Regions from separate parts of the Homo sapiens genome. Here region 2 is linked to region 1. The links are contacts of gene promoters, found by promoter capture Hi-C in blood cells and fetal thymus (Javierre and others, 2016). All regions are on one chromosome and are shown on one strand. The core of a region is centred on a gene start or on the middle of the fragment in contact, and the rest is flanking DNA. Distances in the headings are between cores, read along the strand shown. Region 1 holds the start of ADORA2A-AS1 (ADORA2A antisense RNA 1). Region 2 overlaps SPECC1L (sperm antigen with calponin homology and coiled-coil domains 1 like).

Region 1 (6,336 bases), core at 1,457-3,956:
TACACTGAATGAGAGGGTACAAAGGATGGTAAGATACTAGTTTTAGAAAGACAACTAAGGATAGACATTGGAGGTGGAGAGACAAGTTACAAGACTGGCAACAATTCAAGCAAAAGATGACAGGAGGCAGACATGAGGAGGGAGGAGGAAGGATATGAACAAAATCCAGGAGATAAATTTAGCAGAACTTGATGCCTGATTGTATTGAGGAAAGAAAGAACATGGAGGAGTTGCAGATGACTCTCAAAAACTTGGCAAATCAGTGGGTGGTGAGGCCATTACTGAAATAGGGAATACAGTGCAGAAGATAAGAGGCTGGGCGCGGTGGCTCATGCCTGTAATCCCAGCACTTCAGGAGGCTGAGGCAGGCGGATCACCTGAGGTCAGGAGTTCAAGACCAGACTGACCAACATGGTGAAACCCCATCTCTACTAAAAATACAAAAAATTGGCTGGGTGTGATGACACACGCCTGTAATCCCAGCTACTCGGGAGGCTGAGGCAGGAGAATCGCTTGAACCTGGGAGGCGGAGGTTGCAGTGAGCCAAAATCGCACCATTGCACTGCAGCCTGGGCGACAAAAGCGAAACTCTGTAACAACAACAACAACAACAACAAAAGAAGATAAGAGCCTGCTTGAGAAAGGAGGTGAAAGTTCATTCAGTTTGAAGCATTTTGAGTTGGCTTTGAAGCCTCTTCCATGAGACCTCCAACAATTTCTCTAAGCCAGAAATCACCTCTTTGCACTCCATAGTATCTTTTTCATCTCAAATTATTTAAATCTGCTGTATTTACAAGTTTGTCTTTCCTTTTTTTTTTTTTTTTTTTTTTTTTGAGACGGAGTTTTGCTCTTGTTGCCCAGGCTGGAGTACAATGGCACGATCTCAGCTCGCTGCAACCTCCGCCTCCCCTCCTGGGTTCAAGCGATTCTCCTGCCTCAGCCTCCCGAGTAGCTGGGATTACAGGCATGCGCCACCATGCCCGGCAAATTTTTGTATTTTTAGTAGAGACGGGGTTTCACCATGTTGGTCAGGCTGGTCTCGAACTCCTGACCACAGGTGATCTGCCCGCCTCGGCCTCCCAAAGTGCTGGGATTACAGGTGTGAGCCAACGTGCCCAGCCGTCTTTACTTTAAATCACAAAGAAAAGGTACTAGGTCTTATCTGTCTTTATATGGCTCTCTTAGCAGTGCCTTACACATAGAAAGTCCTCAGAGTTTGCACTCTTGAGAAGGCAGCTCCATCAGATACTAGAAACCGTCAGCTAACATTTATCAAAACAAGGAACAAAACTTGTGAATTAGCAGCTGAAACAAAATACCTGAAGTATAATATTTTTAATGTTAGTAGCTGATTCTAGATATAAATTAGCTCCCTTTGTGCTCATTTTACTTGCCTCTTTTTTTTTTTTCTTTGAGATTGCGTCTCACTCTGTTGCCCAGGCTGAAGTGCAGTGTTAAGATCATAGCTAGGGAGCCTCGAACTCCTGGGCTCAAGCGATCCTCTCACCTCTGCCTCCCAAGAAGCAGGTGCGCACCACCATGATAGGCTAATTTGTAAAACATTATTTTGTAGATACAGGGTCTTGCTGTGTTACCCAGGCTGGTCTGGAGTTCCTGGCCTCAAACAATACCCCTTTCTAGGCCTCCCAAAGTGCTGGGTTTACAGGCATGAGCCACCGTGCTGGCCTTTTCTGACTTTTAAACAACCCCGCAGCGTAATCTTTGCATTCCTATTTTACAGATAAAGCAACAGAAGCCTCCAGCGACTAAGTTAAACTTTCCTGGGGTCACAAGGTTTACAAGTGGCTGAATAGGATTTCTACAGACTGGTTCCTTCACCCGGCTGCCCGCCGAAGTAAGCGGGCCTTACTGCCCTAATTCTCAATAGGACCCCAAAGAGGACGCTTCTTTGCTCCTGAAGGGATGGCACCCTCTGGATTCGCGGTAACAGCAAATGGGGCTCTCACTCCTACCATCTCAGTGACAGTTTAAAGCGCACCCTACCGCAGGAAAGTGCCCATATTTGCACACACGCGGCAGAGGGCAGGGCTGAAAAGGGGCCCTAGGGTGCAGGGGGCGCGCCCTCACCCGGGGACCCCGCATTTTACAATATTAGCTCCACCGAGGCGCACGGAACCGCAGGCGAGCAACTGACCTTCGGCTCCAGCGGCCCCAAAGCCGGGGGTGGGAACGCGCGACCCAGGTAGCGGCATGGACTCCGAGCCTGGCCCCTCGGGGGTTAAAACTCCCCAGACATAAAGGCTCCGGACGACAGAGGTGCAGCCGCCGCGTGCCCGTGGGACACTGAAACTCTTCCCTTACCTTCCTCGGTAGTCCTGTGAGGGAGGCTGGCCCGGCCGGCTGCCCTACGGTGCGGACAGGAGGTCGCGGTCGGGAGGGGCCCTGCCCGGCGGTTGCTGCTGGAACCAGCCCCCGCAAGGGCCCGCAGCGGCCGGGCCGTTTACCTCAGACCCGCGCCGCAGCCTCCCGGAGCCCGCGCCCAGGACTCCCTCACGACCTCTCCAGGGTCCCGGCCCGACACCAAGGGGCAGGTGAGGGGTGGAACCTGGAGGCACCCGCGCCAGGGCCCCTGAGGGAGGCGGGAGGGGGACAGCCTCAGTCCTGACTCGCAGCCGAGGCGCGACGACTCCGCGCAGTCCCGCCTGTGGAGGGGCGTGCCTCATCGCTTGCTAACCGAGAGGCGAAGGGCAAGGGGCGAAGGGCAAGCGCCGGATCCTTTCGCCCCCTCCCCACGTGAGGCCCTGGAGGCTGATTGGCCGTGTGCTGCGGAGGCGGCAAGAGGAACGTGTCCTGGCACGTGCCGAAGGAGCGCTAAAGGCCAGGGGCGGTCCCACCCGCGAAGCCCTGGAAGGCGGATTGGCTGCGCGAGGAAGTGGCGTGTCCTCACTTGAGCTGTCTGGGAGCGAGAGTAAGAGATAAAGGCAAGGGCGCCTGACCGGGCCTGGGCACCTCCTCCCACTGCGGGCAAAGGGCAGGCAGTTCGTGCGCGGACACAAGCACTGGCGGACCGTGGCCATGGCGGGCGCTGAGTGGAAGTCGCTGGAGGAATGCTTGGAGAAGCACCTGCCGCTCCCCGACTTGCAGGAAGTGAAGCGCGTTCTCTATGGCAAGGAACTCAGGTCCGCAGCCAAGAGGCTAAGCTAATGGGGTCTTGGGGCCACAGAGTGTGGGTCTGGGGGAGCAGGCAGGGAGGGCCTCAGGGTCTGAAGGGCTCAGGGGAGGCGGTGAGAAGTCCTGAGTTGGCGGGCAGAGACCATAGTAGGTCTTGATGGGACGGCCCCGGGGTCCTTGGGGGTTGCAGAATCCTGGCGTGACCTTTACAAATCTCTTCTCCCCCACGTTGCCCAGAACCGGAAGGAAAAGGACGGGATTTTACTCTCCAGGGCTTTCTCTGTGGCCATCCCAACCCTCCTCCCCGGAGCCGGGCTTGTCTTCTGGATGTCTGGCTGGATCACTGTCTCCAACCAGAGCACCCAGCAGGTGTACTGATTGTCCGGCCCCAGACCATCCTTCTTGCGGTGACCCGACCTCTGGCTGACCCTTGGAAATAGAGGCTGTCTGCATTTAGTTGGCGAGGGAACCTTTCCCACTGGCAAGCCATGGGCGCTGGTTTTTCCACTCCCTGCAAGCTTGTGCATCACCAGGACTTTCTGAGGGCTGTATACTGCTGGACACTGTGTCCACAAAGCTGAAAAAGACACTTCCTGGCCGGGCTCACACCTGTAATCTCAGCACTTTGGGAGGCCAGGGCTGGAAGATTGCTTGAACTCAGGAGTTCGAGACCGGCCTGGGCAACATAGTGAGACACCCATCTCTATAAAGCATTTAAAAAAATAGCCAAGCATGGTAGCATGCATCTGTAGTCCTAGCTACATGGCAGGCTGAGGCGGGAGGATCACTTGAGCTTGGGAGGTCGAGGCTGCAGTGAGCCAAAATCTCTCCTCTGCACTCCAGCCTGGGAGTCAGAGTGAGGCCCTGTCTCAAACACACACACACACACACACACACACACACATACACACACACACACACACACACGTCTTTGGATTTGGAGCTTACTTGGATAATCCCGGATGATCTTATCTTGAGATCCTGACCTTAATTACGTCTGTGAAGACCCTTTTTCCAAATAAAATCACAATGACAGGTTCCAGGTGTCAGGATGGAGACACAGCTCAACCTGCTACAGTAGCTTCAGGGTCTGCAGGTGGAAATAACTCAGGGGCTATTTGCTATGTGGAGGTGGGCCTCAGGTGGGCGAGGCTGGGCTTGTTGAGCTGCCCTGGAGATGGTCATTCCAGGTGAAGGAGGAGCAGGTACAAAAGAGGGCGCTGGAGAGAATGCTGGAAAACCTGGATATTCAAGGGGTCAGAGAAAGAGACTTTGTGGGAGATTCTGGAGGTGAGGACTCTGGGGCAGGACAGGAAAGAAGCATCAGATGGCTCAGAAATGTCTAGCGGGTGAGGACAGCAGGAAGTCTGCTGGATTTAGCCATGATAAGGCTGTTGGCAGTTCCTGAGATGGGGCCAGGAGGTAAGGCCTGAGCTGAGGGGAAGCATGTGTGGAAGCTCCCTAGGCAGCAGGGAGAGACAGCAAGTGAGTAAACACATGGACATATGTGGAACACTGTCCCTCTTTCTCTTTCTTCCTCACCTTCTCTCCCCCCTATCTCCCTTCTGTTTTTCAACGGGAGAGACTCTTTAACAGCTTCAGTGATGGATGTGGAGGTCTGTAGGTACTAGTGGAGAAAGATGTCCAAGCTATGTGTATTAAGTGAAAAAGGCAAGTTGAAGAACAGAAAATACAGAATGATACCATTGTATTTGTAATGCATACACGTAGGAAAATAGGAAAGAGACATAAAACATTGTTAAGAGGGGTTGCCTCTGAGTTTTGGGACTAGGGGTGGGGTAGAAAGGGGAATGTATGTTTCATTTTATACCCTTTCCCACTATTTGATTCACCCCCGCCATGAGCACATGTCTCTTTTGTAACAGAGCTCTAGTTTAATGATTTAAAGTGCTGGTGGTAAAGAGCCATCAGACATGGAAAGATGAAGTTCCAGAAGTGAGAGGTTGCTGAGGAGGCAGGAACTTGGTGTCCTCTGGCAAGGTCTGCCTGACCCTGGGTGGGAGAGGTGGGGGCCCTGAAGGGCATGGTGGGGCTAGGATGGGAAGTGAAGGGCTTTACTCCTTGAAGTTTGAAGGGAAGCCCTGAGTGGGGAGGCCTCAGTAGCAGGGTGAGGGGTAGAGGGTCTGAAAGCCAACTACAGGGACCAGGGCAGGCAGTGGCAGCAGGAGGCCGTCTGTGAGGTTATGGCTCATTTGCTGGTCTTGTCCTCCTGGGCAGTGGCTGATTGATGTTTTAGTACTTTTGGGCTACTATAACAGAATACCAGACTTCCCTGTACTTGTGGGCAATCACAGGGAGAAAAAGGAGAAGGGTCTGTGTGTCTGTTTCCCCAAAGGTCTGTGGGCCTGGTAGCTGGACAGCCCTTTGGGAACGTCCTAGTGAACACTGTCCTCAGCCTGTGGTCTCACACCAGGAAGAAGTCAGGTGGCAGAGCTCTTGTCTGAGTGTGCAACCCTGGCTGTAACCAACATCTGGCTGCGGTCTCTTTCCCCATCTTAAACCACATGAATTTATTCCTCACAGTTCTGAATGCTATGAAGTCCAAGATCAAGGTGCCACAGCAGATCTGGTGTCTGTTGAGGGCCCACTTTCTGGTTTTTGATGGTGCCTTCTCACTGTGTTCTTACATGGTGCAGGAAGCAAGCATGCCCTCTTGGTCTTTTAAAAGGACTCTACCCTCATGACCTAATCACCTCTGAAAGAGCCCTATCACATTGGAGATTAGGATTTCAACATATGAATTTGGGGCAGACATAAGCATTCAGTCTGTCTCAGTGTTCCACTGCATCTCCTGTACCAGGCCTTTCGGTGGGCACAGCACATGGTCATTGACTGCGTCTACACAGGGTATGGCTTGAGGATTGGTTAGGTTCTCCAAGATGAAGCTGTGTAGGATGTGGTAATGCACCGCCTTTGATAATGGGAGGGCAGAGAGGCCTTACAGGTACTGCCCAGATAGTAGACAGGAGTGGCTGGGAGGAGGTAGAGCCCCAAAGGTGGCTGTCCTGGAGGGTGGAGCGGCCTCTCCTGTATTACCTTGGCTTAGAATGAGCTCGCAGGGAGCTGGGGATAAGGAGGTGGGCAGCCTCAGGGCTGGCTAGGCGGAGGCATCACTTGGGGGAAGAAGGGTAGGTAATGGAGGTTGTGCATGGTGGGAAGATGAGGAGAGAGACTTCAGCCAGG
Region 2 (6,759 bases), core at 1,226-3,725, 120 kb before region 1:
GTCACACATTAGAAATGATAAGTCCTGACCTGGCATGGTGGATCACACCTATAATCCTAACACATTGGGAGGCTGAGGCAGATGGATCACTTGTGCCCAGGAGTTCAAGCCTGGGCAACATGGCAAAACCCTGTCTCTACAAAAATAAAAATAATAATAAGCTGGCATGGTGGTGTGTGCCTGGAGTCCCAGCTACTTGAGAGGCTGAGGTGGGAGGATCACTTGAGCCTGGGAGGCAGAGGCTGCTGTGAGCTGATAAAAGAAGAAATGATGAGTCCTATACAAAATGTTAGGAACACATTCTCAAAGTCCAGCCATAACTTGACTATCACTTGGGTGAAATAAGTTTGTTACCTTTCCACAGTACCCAATATTTCCAATATTACTCATCTGTTGTAGCACTTTCTTACTTAAGTCCAGGTTAAATGCTTTTTTTAAGTTACGTTAAATATAACTTTGGAGAGCAGACTCTAATTCTCCATACAAAAGGGAAACCTGTAGAATTCATCCATTCTGCTAAAAAATACAATTTTGATTTCTAGTGTCCTCACATACAGTATTAGTTACAGAGATTCTCCCCAGCTTGCAGCTGGTACTCTTGATTGCATTTCATGCTTTGGCACAAATGCACAGAAGTACAACACAAAAAGGGAATGGAGTTCTATGTTCCTGATCTCTTCACATTAGACTTCATCTCACCAAAATGGCATAAAAGGTGTGGCTACAACATTTGCATACAAATTTCATGCAAAAGAGGTAATAACATTAGTAGAGGAAAAGAAGATCTGCCATTAACAGGTCACTTTTGGATGAATTTGTACATGACTTTAAGTGATGATCCTCAACTCATTTAAGATTAAAGAGCCAAGCATATTGCAGTGGACATACAGAAAAGTCATGATAATCATTGAGGATTTACTAAGACTCTCCATGTCTCAGCTTCAAGCCAGTGGCAAGTAAAAAAGAGAAGAGAAAATAATTTAAAAAAAGAATCTCCATGCCAGCTTCCACTGGCTAACAAAGGAGATAAGTAGTGTTGGCAAAGATGTGGAGAAATGGGCAGGCTTATGTTTTGTTGGAGGGGACCTATAAAATGTTGTAACTGCTGTGGAAAATAGTATGGCAGTTCCTCAAAAAAGTAAACAGAATTACCATATGATCTGGCAGTTCCACTTCTGGAAAATTCCACTTCTAGGAAAGCAGAGACTTGGAGAAATATTTTAGGCACACCCATTTTTGTGGCAGTGTTATTCACAGTAGCCAAAAAGTGGAAGCAACCCAAGTGTCTGTCGATAGAAGAATGGATAAACAACCTGTGGTATATAATACAATGGAATACCATTCTTCCTTAAAAAGGAAGGAAATTCTTACACATGCTACAACACGATGCACACTGAAGACATTGTGCTAAATGAAACAAGCCATATACAAAAGGGCTAATACTACATGATTCTAATTATATGGAATACCTAGAGTTAGTAATATTTATAGAGACAAAAAGTAGAATGATGGTTGCCAGGGGCTGGGGGAGGGAAAAAAGAAAGGGGGTGGGTACACAGTTTAGTTTTACAAAATGAAAAAAGTACTGGAGATGGATGGTGGTGATGGTAGCACAATCATATGAGTATACTTAATGCCACTGAACCGTATAATTAAAGATGGTTAAAATGATTTTTTATGTATATTTACCATGATAATAAAACTCCACTGCAAAAAGAAAAAAAAGAAAGATTGAGATAAGACCAGATAGAAAACCAGCAAGGGAATAGAAGACTTGAATAGTACTGTATACCAACCAGACCTAAAGACATTATACAACACTGCACCCAATAATAGCAGAATACACATTCTTCTCTCAGGTGCACATGGAAGATTGCAGGTTAGGCCATATGTTAGGTCATAAAACTAGTCTCATTAAATTTAAAAAGACTGAAATTGGCCAGATGTGGTGGCTCGTGCCTGTAGTCCCAGTATTTTGTGAGGCCAAGATGAGAGGATCACTTGAGCCCAGTAGTTTGAGACCAGCCTGGGCAGCATCGGGAGGCCCTATCTCTACAAAGATTAAAATGAAATAAATAAAAAGATGGAAAGCATTTAAATTTTCTTCATTTTTTTCTGATCACAATGAAAGATTAGAAATTAGTAGCTGAAGGAAAATTGGAAAATAAGTGAAAATTAAAGCACACACTCTAAATAACCAGTGGGTCAAAAAATTAATCACAAGGGAAATTAGAAAATGCTCTGAGAACAAAAATGAACGCAGCATACCAAAATTTATGGGAGGCAGCGAAAGCAGTTCTCAAGGGGATTGACATTGATTGATTGATTGATTGATTGATCGATTGAGAGACAGAGTCTCATTCTGTCACCCAGGCTGGACTGCAGTGGTGCGACCTTGGTTCACGGCAGGCTCCGGCTCCCGGGCTCAAGTGATTCTTCTGCCTCAGCCTCTCAAGTAGCTGGGATTACAAACGTGTGCTATCATGCCCAGCTAATTTTTGTATTTTAGTAGAGACGAGGTTTCGCCATGTTGGCCAGGCTGGTCTTGAATTCCTTACCTCAGGTAATCTGCCTGCCTCAGCCTCCGAAACTGCTGGGATTACAAGCATGAGCCACCGCGCCCGGTCTCAAAGGGAAATTTATAAACACCCACCTTTACAAAGAGGAAAGATCTCAAAGCAGTAATCTAAGTTTCTTCCTTAAGGAAGTAGACCAATAACAGGCTCTGAAATTGAGGCAATAATTAATAGCTTACCAACCAAAAAAAGTCCAAGACCAGATGGATTCACGGCCGAATTCTACCAGAGGTACAAGGAGGAGCTGGTACCATTCATTCCGAAATTATTCCAATCAATAGAAAAAGAGGGAATACTCCCTAACTCGTTTTATGAGGCCAGCATCATCCTGATACCAAAGCCTGGCAGAGACACAACAAAAAAAGAGAATTTTAGATCAATATCCCTGATGAACATTGATGCAAAAATCCTCAATAAAATACTGGCAAACGAAATCCAGCTGCTGCTGGATCCACCATGATCATGTGGGCTTCATCCCTGGGATGCAAGGCTGGTTCAACATACGCAAATCAATAAATGTAATCCAGCATATAAACAGAACCAGTGACAAAAACCATATGATTATCTCAATAGATGCAGAAAAGGCCTTTGACAAAATTCAACAACACTTCATGCTAAAAACTCTCAATAAATTAGGTATTGATGGGACGTATCTCAAAATAATAAGAGCTATCTATGGCAAACCCACAGCCAATATCATACTGAATGGGTAAAAACTGGAAGCGTTCCCTTTGAAAACTGGCACAAGACAGGGATGCCCTCTCTCACCACTCCTATTCAACATAGTGTTGGAAGTTCTGGCCAGGGCAGTCAGGCAGGAGAAAGAAATAAAGAGTATTCAGTTAGGAAAAGAGGAAGTCAAATTGTCCCTGTTTGCAGATGACATGATTATATATCTAGAAAACTCCATCATCTCAGCCCAGAATCTCCTTAAGCTGATAGGCAACTTCAGCAAAGTCTCAGGATACAAAATCAATGTGCAAAAATCACAAGCATTCTTATACACCAATATCAGACAAACTGAGAGCCAAATCATGAGTGAACTCCCATTCACAATTGCTTCAAAGAGAATAAAATACCTAGGAATGCAACTTATAAGGGACATGAAGGACCTCTTCAAGGAGAACTACAAACCACTGCTCAATGAAATAAAAGAGGATACAAACAAATGGAAGAACGTTCCATGCTCATGGGTAGGAAGAATCAATATCATGAAAATGGCCATACTGCCCAAGGTAATTTATAGATTCAGTGCCATCCCCATCAAGCTACCAATGACTTTCTTCACAGAATTGGAAAAAACTACTTTAAAGTTCATATGGAACCAAAAAAGGCCTGCATTGCCAAGTCAATCCTAAGCCAAAAGAACAAAGCTGGAGGCATCACACTACCTGACTTCAAACTATACTACAAGGCTACAGTAACCAAAACAGCATGGTACTGGTACCAAAATAGAGATATAGACCAATGGAACAGAACAGAGCCCTCAGAAATAATGCTGCATATCTACAACCATCTGATCTTTGACAGACCTGACAAAAACAAGAAATGGGGAAAGGATTCCCTATTTAATAAATGGTGCTGGGAAAACTGGCTAGCCATATGTAGAAAGCTGAAACTGCATCCCTTCCTTACACTTTATGCAAAAATTAATTCAAGATGGATTAAAGACTTAAATGTTAGACCTAAAACCATAAAAACCCTAGAAGAAAACCTAGGCAATACCATTCAGGACATAGGCATGGGCAAGGACTTCATGTTTAAAACACCAAAAGCAATGGCAACAAAAGCGAAAATTGACAAATGGGATCTAATTAAACTAAAGAGCTTCTGCACAGCAAAAGAAACTACCATCAGAGTGAACAGGCAACCTACAGAATGGGAGAAAATTTTCGCAATCTACTCATGTGACAAAGGGCTAATATCCAGAATCTACAATGAACTCAAACAAATATACAAGAAAAAAAAAATCCCATCAACAAGTGGGCGAAGGATATGAACAGACACTTCTCAAAAGAAGACATTTATGCAGCCAAAAGACACATGAAAAAATGCTCATTATCACTGGCCATCAGAGAAATGCAAATCAAAACCACAATGAGATACCATCTCACACCAGTTAGAATGGCGATCATTAAAAAGTCAGGAAACAACAGGTGCTGGAGAGGATGTGGAGAAATAGGAACACTTTTACACTGTTGGTGGGACTGTAAACTAGTTCAACCATTGTGAAAGTCAGTGTGGCGATTCCTCAGGGATCTAGAACTAGAAATACCATTTGACCCAGCCATCCCATTACTGGGTATATACCCAAAGGATTATAAATCATGCTGCTATAAAGACACATGCACACGTATGTTTATTGCAGCACTATTCACAATAGCAAAGACTTGGAACCAAGCCAAATGCCCAAGAATGATAGACTGGATTAAGAAAATGTGGCACATATACACCATGGAATACTATGCAGCCATAAAAAATGATGAGTTCATGTCCTTTGTAGGGACACGGATGAAGCTGGAAACCATCATTCTCAGCAAACTATCGCAAGGACAAAAAAAAACAAACACTGCATGTTCTCACTCATAGGTGGGAATTGAACAATGAGAACACATGGACACAGGAAGGGGAACATAACACACAGGGGCCTGTTGTGGGGTGGGGGGAGGGGGGAGGGATAGCATTAGGAGATATACCTAATGTTAAATGACGAGTTGATGGGTGCAGCACACCAACATGGCACATGTATACATATGTAACTAACCTGCACCTTGTGCACATGTACCCTAAAACTTAAAGTATAATTTAAAAAAAAAGGAAGTAGAAAAAAGATAAGCTAAACCCAAAATAAGCAGAAGGAAGGAAATAAAGATTAGAGCCAAAATAAATAAAATAGAAAATAGAAAAACAATAGAGAAGATCAATGAAAAAAAAATGGGTTCTTTGAAAAGATAAACAAATTGACAAACCTCTAAGTAGATAGATAAAAAGAAAACGAAGACTAAAGTTACCAAAATCAGGAATAAAGGGACGTTACTAATGACCTTAAGAAATAAAAAGGATTAAAATGGAATACTGTGAACAATGAATGCCAAAAATTGGATAACTTAGATGATATGGACAAATTCCTAGAAACATTAACTATCAAAATGGACTCAAGAAGCAAGAACATCTGGAGAGACAAATAACAACTAATGAGATTGAGTTAGTAATCAAAATACTTCCAGCAAAGAGAAGCCCAGGACCAGATTACTTTACTGGTTAATTCTTCCAAATTTTAAAAGAGGAATTAATAGCAATACTTCTCAAACTCTTCCAAAAATCAAAGAAAATATTACTTCCTAACTCATTCTGTGAGGCCATCATTACTCTCATACCAAAAACGGAAAAAGATATTACAAAAAAAGAAAACTGTAAAAGCCCTTGACAAAATAATGACAATATCCAGCAGTATATTAAAGAGGATTATACACCCTGACCAAGTGTTCTTTATCCCAGCAATGCAAGGTTGGTTCAACATATGAAAATGAATTAATACTGTAATACCATATTATTAGAATAAAGGGGAAAAAACCGCATGATCATCTCACTAGACACTGTAAAAGCATTTGGTAAAATCCAGCAGCCATTTATGATTTTAAAAACTAGGAATAAAAGGTAATTTTCTCAATCTAATAAAGGGTACCTATGAAAACCCACAGTTGGCTGGGCACAGTGGCTTATGCCTGTAATCCCAGTACTTTGGGAGGCCAAGGCGGGTGATCAGTTGAGGCCAGGAGTTCAAGACCAGCCTAGGCAACATGCAAAACTCCATCTTTACTAATACAAAAACTAGCCAGGTGTAGTGGCACACACCTGTAATGCCAGCTACTTGGGAGGCTGAGACATGAGAATGACTTGAACCTGCGAGGTGGAGGTTGCAGTGAGCTGATAACACACCACTGCACTCCAGCCTGGGTGACAGAGTGAGACTCTGTCTCAAAACAAACAAACAAACAAACAAAAAAAACAAAAAAAACCCACAGTTTTAACATTATACTTAATGGTGAAGACTGAAAGCTTTCCCCTTAAGATCAGGAACAAGAAAGAATGTCGTTTATCACCATTTCTATTCAACATTTTTCTGCAAGTTCTAGCTAAGACAGACAAGAAAAAAGGAAAGAAAAGGCATCCAGATAGGAAA

The links. The method cuts DNA at HindIII sites, captures the fragments that hold promoters and counts their contacts. A CHiCAGO score of 5 or more calls a contact.
Region 2: a contact is called between a fragment that was not itself captured here and the fragment with the promoter of ADORA2A-AS1 in region 1, in 2 of 17 cell types (monocytes and naive CD8 T cells). The highest score is 6.0, in monocytes.

The regions. Positions count from the first base shown.
Region 1 is chr22:24,492,368-24,498,703 of GRCh38, forward strand. It overlaps ADORA2A-AS1 (ADORA2A antisense RNA 1), which reads right to left and starts at 2,707. Exons shown (of 7, transcript NR_028484.3): 1 at 2,323-2,707. UPB1 (beta-ureidopropionase 1) reads left to right here and starts at 2,965. Exons shown (of 10, transcript NM_016327.3): 1 at 2,965-3,140. The coding sequence starts at 3,037. The HindIII fragment of the contact is 15,084 bases long and covers 1-3,648 here.
Region 2 is chr22:24,369,394-24,376,152 of GRCh38, forward strand. All of the region lies in intron 14 of SPECC1L (sperm antigen with calponin homology and coiled-coil domains 1 like), which reads left to right. The region is part of intron 15 of SPECC1L-ADORA2A (SPECC1L-ADORA2A readthrough (NMD candidate)); the gene reads left to right. Among named protein-coding and RNA genes, the nearest start is that of ADORA2A, 55 kb to the right of the region's middle. The HindIII fragment of the contact is 8,316 bases long and covers 1-6,633 here.